Regions from separate parts of the Homo sapiens genome. Here region 2 is linked to region 1. The links are contacts of gene promoters, found by promoter capture Hi-C in human tissues and cell types (Jung and others, 2019). All regions are on one chromosome and are shown on one strand. Each heading gives the region's core, a stretch centred on a gene start or on the middle of the fragment in contact. The rest is flanking DNA. Distances are from core to core; before and after follow the strand shown.

The links. Contacts are between HindIII fragments. The study calls those that stand out against the background at their distance.
Region 2: a fragment that was not itself captured here is called in contact with the fragment with the promoter of DYNLRB1 in region 1 in 2 of the 25 tissues and cell types used here (IMR-90 fibroblasts and heart left ventricle).

What each region holds. Positions count from the first base shown.
Region 1 is chr20:34,514,228-34,519,693 of GRCh38, forward strand. DYNLRB1 (dynein light chain roadblock-type 1) reads left to right here and starts at 2,195. Exons shown (of 4, transcript NM_014183.4): 1 at 2,195-2,234. The coding sequence starts at 2,232. RefSeq lists enhancers at 1,217-1,276, 1,387-1,626, 2,015-2,880, 2,547-2,726 and a silencer at 2,087-2,196. The HindIII fragment of the contact is 11,693 bases long and covers 1-3,467 here.
Region 2 is chr20:34,200,866-34,206,021 of GRCh38, forward strand. It overlaps a transcript of ASIP not described here. Among named protein-coding and RNA genes, the nearest start is that of ASIP, 38 kb to the right of the region's middle. The HindIII fragment of the contact is 6,854 bases long and covers 96-5,156 here.

The DNA of each region.
Region 1 (5,466 bases), core at 945-3,444:
TATTTTTAGTAGAGGGGCTTTCACTATGTTGGCCAGACTGGTCTCGAACTCCTGACCTCGTGATCCGCCCACCTTGGCCTCCCAAAGTGCTGAGATTACAGGTGTGAGCCACTGCGCCGGGCCAAAACTCTAAGCCTGCCACTCCGGGACATTCTTGGTCCTATTCCAGCTCCTCCTTCATTCTCATTTTGGCTCCTGTCACATGAACTATTGGCCATTCTCTTTTTTGCTTCTGGGATTGTAATCTGTTAAAATCCTTTCACTCCTCTCAGTCTGGTTCTCCATGGGCAAGACAGTGGTGATTCTTCCAGTGCTTATCTTCCAGGATGTTTTAGGGTCCAGTCTCTGCAGCACTTCTTCCCCTTGCTAAATGCTTTCCTAATGTTTCCAGCATTCAATAGAAATTCCTTTGGATCCAGTCCTTTTAAAAATTTATTTTGAAATAATTTTACATTTACAGAGCTGTTGCAAAAATGGTTAAGAGTTCCTGCACAGTCTTCACCCAGCTTTCTCCAATGTTATGATCCCATATAACCATGCTAGAATTACCAAAACTAATAAATTAACACTGGTAAAAATAACACTAAACTACAGCCCTTACTCAGATTTCACCAATTTTCCCACCCATGTTATTTTTCTTTCTCCTTACTCCTCTAATCTGTGACAGTTCCGCATTCATTCCTTGCTTTCATGACTTTGAGATTTTGGGGGGCGGGGGCGGGGTACAGGTATCTTGTAGAACATCCCTCACACTGGATTTAGTGAAATTTTCTCATGGTTTAAGGCTGGGAGTTTTTGTGGAAAATGACTCGGAGGTGATGTGCCCTTAACGCATTTTTATCGGGGCACACGGCATCAATATCTCCCCTTGCCAGTAATACTAACTTTGATCTGGTTACGGTGGTGTCTGCTAGGTTTCTTCGCAGTAAAGTCAATCCTCTTAACATGCAGACACTCCTGGAAGGAGAACCAAATCCTTCCTCACTGAAGAGCAGCTACTGTGGAATGAAACTTTGGAGTTAGATCATCGTTGAATCCAGCAAGCTACAGTGCCTGGGAGAAACAGCATTTATAAAGTATCGAGGTTACCGATACTTCCCTGAAGCTACCGGAGATAACGTTATGTGCGTGTTCAGCACAGTAATGTGGCACAGGGTTCACTAAACGGCAGCATGTTTTAACAGAAGTTATTTACTCCTAGAGGACCCAGAAACGTTTGCGGCCTGCCGGAACAGGACAACATAGGGCTCTGGGAAGAGTCCCCCTTTCAGAGGTGAGAACAAGACAGAACACACAGATGTGAAGTGCCTTCTGCTAGGTAACGCGAGGCGGGGCTGAGCTCGGATTCTAAAGACTCCCAGGCCAGCCCTAACCAATTCATCTCCGAGCTTGCACGGCATCTTACCCGGAGACTCGAGGTACCTGACTCCAGCCCCACCCCAGGCCTGCCCGATCCCGAAGCGCATTTTGGCCCTGGGCCTCTCTCTGGCTCAGTCTGGGCGCAAAGCGGGTCTCAGCAACCGTCCCACTTGCCTTCATACCCTCCCACCACGCTCCACTCAGGGACTCCAGAACCAGCTTAGACCTCCATTGAGAGCTGAAAGCCTCTTCCGATACCGAGAACCAGCACTGAAAGCCTCTTCCGATACCGAGAACCAGCATGGTTTTTGTTTTGTTTTGTTTTAGTCAGGGTCTCTTGCTCTGTCGCCCAGGCTGGGGTGCAGTGGCGCAATCTCGGCTCACTGCAGCCTCGAACTCCTGGTCAGGCGATCCTCCTACCTCAGCCTCTGGAGTAACTGGAACTACACGAGCGCGCCACCACGCCCGGCTAATTTTGTTTATTTTTTAGTAGAGAAGGGGTCTCTCCATGTTGCCCAGGCTGGTCTCGAACTCTTGGGCTCAAGCAATCCTTCCGACTCGGCCTCCCAAAGTGCTGGAATTACAGGCGTAAGCCACCGCGTCCAGCCAGAACCAGCATCTTTTCTGCACGGCTGGAGTTGGGAATTTTCCACAGCTTAGCGCACTGCTCCTTAGCTTTTCGCTTTGCCACAGTGGAAAGCAGATTTTCCAAGAATCCTGGCGGAGCCAAGATCGGCTCGCCCGCCCCCGCCTCACGCTGGCTCCTGATAGGCAGCTAGAGCTGTCCGTTTTGACAGAAACCTTTGCGCAGGCGCAGAAAGGCACAGGACTCGCTAAGTGTTCGCTACGCGGGGCTACCGGATCGGTCGGAAATGGTGAGCGTGCGCCGGGGTCTTGTGGCTGGCGGCCGCCCACCACCCCACGCCAGGCCTTCAGTCTTCCGAGGATGAGGGGATCTCAGAGCTCCGGACAGGGAATCGGTGGTGGCTGGGCGTGGCCGGGCCCGGGCCCCAGCCGACTTGAGGGTGGAACCCGGCGGCGGAGGCCTCTAAAGCCTGACCGAGGCGGGGCCGCCGGATCCCGCTGCCCCTTGACCGGAAGCGGGAGCCCAGCCTCGGCCAGGAAGAGATGATGGGCGAGGGGTGGGCGGCGGCCCTGCAGCCTAGAGTTTTGGGGCCTTGGTGCGCGATGGCAACCCTGGCAACGTTTCCCGGGAGCTCAGTTTGTGGCAGGCTCTGCCAAGCACTTTATGTATCTTGTATTTCCTCCGCCTCCTCCCAGCTCTGTGAGGTAGATACAATCTTTAGTCCCATTTTGTTATACATATCTGTTATTCAGCGCCCCGAGAAGCCAAGTGCTTTGCCCCAGGAAATAGTGGAGATGGATTTGAACCCTAGAAGCTTGACGGCCGCCACTCTGTCGGCGTGGTTCTTTCTAGCCGCTGGGACTGGGTGCCAGAGTCAGGAACGGGCGGGGTCTGCTCTTGGGGATCCCAAAGCTTGCTTTCTACCTTGCTTGCTGCAGCTGTGGGTTCTCAACGCCGTTACAGGTTTTGTGTTTGTAATCCTCACAGCTTGGGCAAAATTTGAAAAAGTTTCAAATTTTAAGCCATGTGAATATATTACTTTTTCAAAAATCTTATTTAGAAATCTAGAGCTTGTAATAAAAAAATTGAAAAAAGAAACCGTGTCATCACCTAGAGGCAACCACTTACAGTAGTCATATGACTTCTAGTCTTTTTTGCTTGTTTTTGGTTTATACAGTTTAGCCCCTATTGAATGTGCAATTGTGGGTTCTGTGTTTTTCATTATTACACCACAATATCTCCACATCATTACAAACATGTAATAATGCTTCAAATATGTATAACTTCATTTTTCACATCACTTCTTAAGCTGTAAAAAAAATTGATATATAATAGTTGTACACATTTATGTTGTAGATATACATGTAATATTTTGATACATGCATATGATGTGTAATGATCAAATCAGGCTATATTTATTATAGAATATCCATCACCTTAAACATTCATTATTTCTTTTTTTTTTTTTTTTTTTGAGATGGAGTGTGTCTCTGTCGCTCAGGCTGGAGTGCAGTGGCACCATCTTAGTTCACTGCCACCTCCGCCTCCCAGGTTCAAGTGATTCTCCCGCCTCAGCCTCCCGAGTAGCTGGGACTACAGGCGCCCACCACCACGCCCAGCTAATTTTTTGTATTTTTAGTAGAGACGGGGTTTCACCGTGTTAGTCCGCCTCAACACGGTGGTCTCGATCTCCTGACCTCGTGATCTGCTCGCCTCAGCCTCCCAAAGTGCTGGGATTACAGGCGTGAGCCACCACGCCTGGCCCACATTTTCTTTATCCATTTACCTATTGATGGACGCTAATTCCATAATTTAGCTATTATGAATAGTGCTGCAATATGAACATGAGGATGTAGGGATGCCTTTGATGTACTAATTTCCGTTCCTTTGAATAAATACCCAGTAGTGGTATTGCTGATTTATGGTAGGTTTTTTTTTTCGTTTTTGTTGTTGTTTTTGTTTTGTTTTGTTTTTTCGATGCCTTTGTCGAAAATCAGTTGGCCGTAAATAAGTGGATTTATTTCTGGGTCCTCTATTCTATTCCATTGGTCTGTGTTTTATACCAATACCATGCTCTTTTGGTTACTATACCTTTCTGGTATATTTTGAAATCAGGTAGTGTGATACCTCAAGCTTTGTTCTTTTCGTCCAGGCTTCTTTTGGCTTTTCTGAGTCTTTTGTGGTTCCATACGAATTTTAGGATTGTTTACAGGTAATACTTGCACACAGTAAAAAAATAAATGATGTAAAAGGATCTAAGTGAAAAATAAAATTCCCACTCTCCTAACCCCCAGTCTCAGTCTCTCCTCCTTTAGAAACAACCATTGTTAGTTTCTTTTTTTTTTTTTCTTGCAAACTTGACCCTCCTGGGCTCAAGTGATCCTCCTGCCTTAATTCCCCAAGTATCTGGGACTACTGGTGCACGCCACCACACCCTGCTAATTTTTTTGTATTTTTTTTTTGTAGAGTTGGGGTTTTGCCATGTTGCCCAGGCTGGTCTTGAACTCCTGGGCTCAAGTGATTCACCCACGTTGGCCTCCCAAAGTGTTAGGATTACAGGCGTGAGCCACCACACCCAGCTGTTAGTTTCTTATGCATCTATACAAGCACTTATATGGCCCCCCTTTTTCTTACTTAAACTGTAGCTTTCTAGAACCTGTATTATGCTACTCCGTGGTTATACTCATAAAAGCAATGCAAATTTAGATGCCTAGTTTAACTTTTTTTTTTTTTCTTTTGAAACAGAGTCTTGCCCTTTCGCCCAGGCTGGAGTGCAGTGGTGTGATCTGAGCTCACTGCAACCTCTGCCTCCCGGGTTCGAGTGATTCTCCTGCCTCAGCCTCCGGAGTAGCTGGGACTGCAGGAGCATGCCACCATGCCTGGCTAATTTTTCTATTTTTGGTAGAGACAGGGTTTTTTTTCTATTTTTAGTAGAGACAGGGTTTCACCATGTTGACCAGGCTGGTCTCAAACTCATGACCTCAGGTGATCCGCCCACCTCCGCCTCCAAAAATGCTGGGATTATGGGCGTAAACCACCATGTATGTTAACAATTTGAAGCAGTACCAGAGGATATAATATAGAAAGTTTATGTGGTCCCCATCTTACTACCCCGTGGCAACTTCTGTTGGCAGTTGGGTGTGTTTCCTTCCAGATGTGTTTGGTGCATAAGCACATTTATGTATAAGCTGTTTATTAGATGAAACTGGAATATATATATATTTGTATATGTTAACTTTACTTTAAGGCTGAAGTGGAGAGATCGCCTGAGCCCAGGAGGTCAAGGCTACAGTGAGCCGTGACTGCACCACTGCACTCCACCCTGGGTGAGAAAAAAATAAGAGAAAACAGAAGTTGACTTTAAGATATATATGTATATATCTTATTCTGCAACTTGTTCTGTTCACTTAAAAATATCACACATTTTTCTGTGTTATTATATGCAGGTCCACTTCATTCTTTTTAAGGTCTGTATCGTATCCTAGTCCCATATGTACATTTAGGTGGTGTATAGTTTTTTT
Region 2 (5,156 bases), core at 2,273-4,772, 310 kb before region 1:
TACATTTGGACACATAGTTTATGCTTTTTAGATTTTGGTTGCTATCTTGCCAAAATAAGTGTTAGCTGTGTTTCAAACTTGATTTTCTTTCTTTCTTTCTTTCTTTCCTTCCTTCCTTCCTTCCTTCCTTCCTTCCTTCCTTCCTTCCTTCCTTCTTTCTTTCTTTCTTTCTTTCTTTCTTTCTTTCTTTCTTTCTTTTTTTTCCTCCAGAATGTCTTATTTAAAAAGAAAGCTAAAAGTATACTTCTAAGTTAGAGCCTCTATTTTTGTATAACACTTGGGATATTTTTTACTTCACATTGAATATAGACAGGCACCCAAGAAGTCTGATGGCCACCGGAGTGCGGGTGACAAGGACCTGACAGAGCCCATGCAGGGCTTTAGATTTGGACACACAAGAGTTGATAACTTCCTTATGAACTCCTTGCCTGATCTAAACTCAATATGGATTCTGACTGTGTTTGAGTAAAGGTTAAACCTGTTGGCAGTTACTGCTTTTCACAAAGTGCACAGTGGAAATCGAGAATTGATAGGGTTAATTTTGGAGCAGTGGCTTATACCATTCACCTCTTTGTTTTTTTGTGACTTATCTCACAGATAATGAGACCTTAATAACAAACAGGTGTAAAAAAATTTCACATTGAAATGATACAAACATTTGATGTAATAAAACCTTGTTGGCTTGATATTTTAAGGAACTGAAATCTAGCAATCTTACTGGAGAGACAAGAATTGGTCTCCAGCTGCCTTTGATAGATTCGGGTGCGAGTGGAGCCGGAGCCATATACCTGGAGGGAATGTGGTTTGTCACACCAAAGAGGATTTTTTTTCTTCAAACTTGCATGTTGCCTAGGTTTCAAATTCTTTGCCGCAAGGCTGATTTGCTTTCACTAACTGGAATTTTGTAGGAGATACTGGTGACCTAAGCTAAGTTGCATTCAACATACTCAGTGTCAAGCTAATGAGGTTCTGTTATAAAGCTTCTACTTTTAATCTGAGAGAAAACATGTTCAGGGCTTCTAGAACACTAAAAATTTTGACTTAGAACAGTGTTCAGTCTGGTGCCAAACTTCCAATGGAATTCAAATTCACATAATCTGAACTTTGTTCACAGGTTATCCTAATAGAGTAATTCTTCATTTTGTTCTATTGAACTGTCTTAAGGATTTGTTTCAAACAGCTAAGTTACTTGATTAAAATAATGATAAAATTGTAAAAAAAAAAAAAAAGATTAGTGCCTTTTTAAAATCCCTTATAACAAATTTTGTTTTACCCAGTCTTAAAGATATTCTATCTTATATCTTCTAGAACAGCAAGCACTGTCCACTTGAACTTTCTGCAATAATGGAAATATTCGATACCTGCATTGTCCAACATGTAGCCACTGAATGGCTACTGAGCGCTTGAAATAGCACTAGCCACATATGGCTATTGAGCAATTGAAATACTACATATGGTCTACGGCCATACCACCCTGAAATATTTTACAGATATTGTCAGTTTTCCAAAATGATTGTGTCAATCTTGTCTGAAACAGTACATATGATGAAATGAATTTTAAATTTTATTTACTTTTAAATAATTTAAATGAATTGTGGTGAATGGCAATGTAGTTCTGGCAATGTTGTTCCACCTGGAATTGATTTTCAGGTATGATGTGAGGTCAAGTTTCCCTTTTTTTTCTGTATGGATATTCAATCAATCCAGCATCATGTACCGAAAACACTATTAATTTCCCACTTTTATTATTAATCCATTGTCTATCTAATATGTGTGTGTTGTTCTGGAATCTCCATTCTTTTCCATTTGTCCATTAGTCTGTCTTTCTGCCACTTGCACCCTGTTTCCATTTCCTGTAACTTTGCAATAAGTTTTGATATTTGGTAGAATAAGTCCTTCATGCCTCTCATCTTCCCCAAGATTGCCTTGGCTATTCTTTTTTTTTTTTTTTTTTTTTTTTCGAGATGGAGTCTTGCTCTGTTGCCCAGGCTGGAGTGCAGCGGCATGATCTCGGCTCACTGCAAGCTCCGCCTCCCAGGTTCACGCCATTCTCCTGCCTCAGCCTCCCGAGTAGCTGGGACCACAGGCGCCCGCCACTACGCCCGGCTAATTTTTTGTATTTTTAGTAGCGACGGGGTTTCACCGCGTTAGCCAGGATGGTGTCAATCTCCTGACCTCATGATCTGCCTGCCTCGGCCTCCCAAAGTGCTGGGATTACAGGCGTGAGCCTTGGCTATTCTTGAACTTCTATATTTCCACATAAACTTTAGGATAACTTTATAAATTCTACCAAAAAAAACCCTGCTGGAATTTTTATTGGGATTACATTAAATCTGTCCATCAATTAATATGAAAGTCTTTACAATATTAAATTTTTTTATCCATGAATATGGTATATCCCTTCACTAGTTGAAGTCTTATTAAAATTTTTTGATGTTTTATAGTTTTCTATGTAGAAACCTGGTATATTATTCATTGGATTTATTCCCAATTATTTTCTATTTATTTTATAAGTGGCATATATATATGTATATTATATATATATTTTTTGAGACACGGTTTCACTCTGTCACTCAAGCTGGAGTGCAGTGGCATGATTTTGGCACACTGCAACCTCTGCCTCCTGGGTTCAAGTGATTCTCATGCCTCAGCCTCCCAAGGAGCTGGGATTACAGGCACCTGCCACCACACGTGGCTAATCTTTGCATTATTGTAGAGACAGGGTTTCGCCACGTTGGCCTGGCTGGTCTCGAACGCCTAACTTCAAGTGATCCTCCCACCTCGGCCTCCCAAAGTGCTGAGATTACAGGCATGAGCCAATGCACCCAGCCTTATAAGTGGCGTATTTTAATTTTATTTATTTATTTATTTTTTGAGATGGAGTTTCGCTCTTTTTTGCCCAGGCTGGAGTGCAATGGCACGATCCTGCCTCACTGCAACCTCTGCCTCCTAGGTTCAAGCAATTTTCCTGCCTTAGCCTCCCAAGTAGCTGGGATTACAGGCACACGCCACCATACCCGGCTAATTTTGTATTTTTAGTAGAGATGGGGTTGTTTCACCATGTTGGCCAGGCTGGTCTCGAACTCCTGACCTCAGGTGATCCACCTGCCTTGGCCTCAAAGTTCTGGGATTACAGGCGTGAGCCACCACGCCCGGCCATAAATGGCATATTTTAATGTTCATTTTTAGTTGTTTGATGCTGGCATATTGACATAATAATTAAAATTTTGTATTTATACTTGCATACAGCAACCCTGCTTAATTAACTTAATAATTCTTATAGTTTATTTATAGATTCACAATCATGTAGTATGTGTAGTGTGTGTAGTGATTTCTTTCAGATAGTTATTTTTTTAATTTTTTTTTTTTTTTGAGACGGAGTTTTGCACTTGTTGTCCAGGCTGGAGTGCAATGGTGCAATCTTGGCTCGCCGCAACCTCCGCCTCGTGGGTTAAAGCGATTCTCCTGCCTCAGCCTTCCGAGTAGCTGGGATTATAGGCACACGCCACCATGCTGGCTAATTTTGTATTTTTAGTAAAAATGGGGTTTCTCCATGTTGGTTAGGCTGATCTTGAACTCCTGACCTCAGGTGATCTACCCACTTTGGCCTCCCAAAGTGCTGGGATTACAGGTGTGAGCCACTGCTCCTGGCCCGTTTTTTAACTTCTTTTTCTTGAATTATTGGACTGGGTAAAACCTTAAGAACAATGATGAATAAAAGTGAAAATAGCAGGCATCCTTATCTTAGTTCTGATAGAAAGAAAGCACTCAATAATTTCAGTTAAATATGATGGTTGCTGGAGTTTACTTTTTGTAGTTACTCTTTATCAGATTGAGGAATTTTTCTTCTAATTCTAGTTTGATATAATTTTTAAACATTAACAGATGGTGAATTTTATGAAATGTATTTTTCTCATCAGTTAAAATGAGCCTGTGATTTTTACACTTTATTCATTTTATTTATTTTCTATTTTTATGGATAGGTAATAGTTGTACAATTTATGTGGTACATGTGATACTTTGATACAAGCATATAATGTGTAATGATCAAATCAGGATAATGGAATATCCATCACCTCAAGCATTTATCATTTATTTGTGTTGGGAACATTCCAAATCTACTCTTCTAGTTATTTTGAAAGGTACAATAAATTATACTTAATTATACTCACCCTATTGTGCTACCAAGTACAAGTGTGCCTGGAATTGGTGGGTTCTTGGTCTCGCTGACTTCAAGAATGAAGCCATGGACCCTCACGGTGAGTGTTACAGTTCTTAAAGATGGTGTGTCCGGAGTTTGTTCCTTCAGTTGTTCAGATGTGTCCGGAGTTTCTTCCTTCTGGTGGGTTCGTGGTCTTGCCGACTTCAGGAGTGAAGCTGCAGACCTTCACAGTGAGTGTTACAGCTCTTAAAGGCATCACGTCCAGAGCTGTTCATTCCTCCCAATGGGTTTGTGGTCTCACTGGCTTCAGGAGTGAAGCTGCAGACCTTCGTGGTGAGTGTTACAGCTCATAGAGGCGGCGCATCCGGAGTTGTTCATTCCTCCCGCTGGGCTCGTGGTCTCGCTGGCTTCAGGAGTGAAGCTGCAGACCTTCTCGGTGAGTGTTACAGCTTATAAAGGTAGTGCAGACCCAAAGGGTGAGCAGCAGCAAGATTTATTGCGAAGAGCGAAAGAACAAAGCTTCCACAGCGTGGAAGGGGACCCAAACGGGTTGCTGCTACTGGCTCTGGTTGCCTGCTTTTATTCCCTTATTTGGCCCCACCCACATCCTGTCGCTTGGTCTATTTTACAGAGCGCTGATTTCTCCATTTTACAGAGCGCTGATTTTGCCGTTTTACAGAGTGCTGATTGGTGCTTTTACAATCCTTTAGCTAGACACAGAGTGTTGATTGGTGCATTTACAATACTTTAGCTAGACAAAAAAGTTCTCCAAGTCCCCACCCAATTAGCTAGACACAGAGCGCTGATTGGTGCATTTACAAACCTTTAGCTAGACACAGAGTGCTGATTGGTGCATTTACAATCCTTTAGCTAGACAGAAAAGTTCTCCAAGTCCCCACCCAACCCAGAAGCCCAGCCAGCTTCACCTCTCACAAGGTCTTATTTCTTCTATTCTAATTGTATTTTGTTTTGTTTTGATTTTTGAGACAGAGTC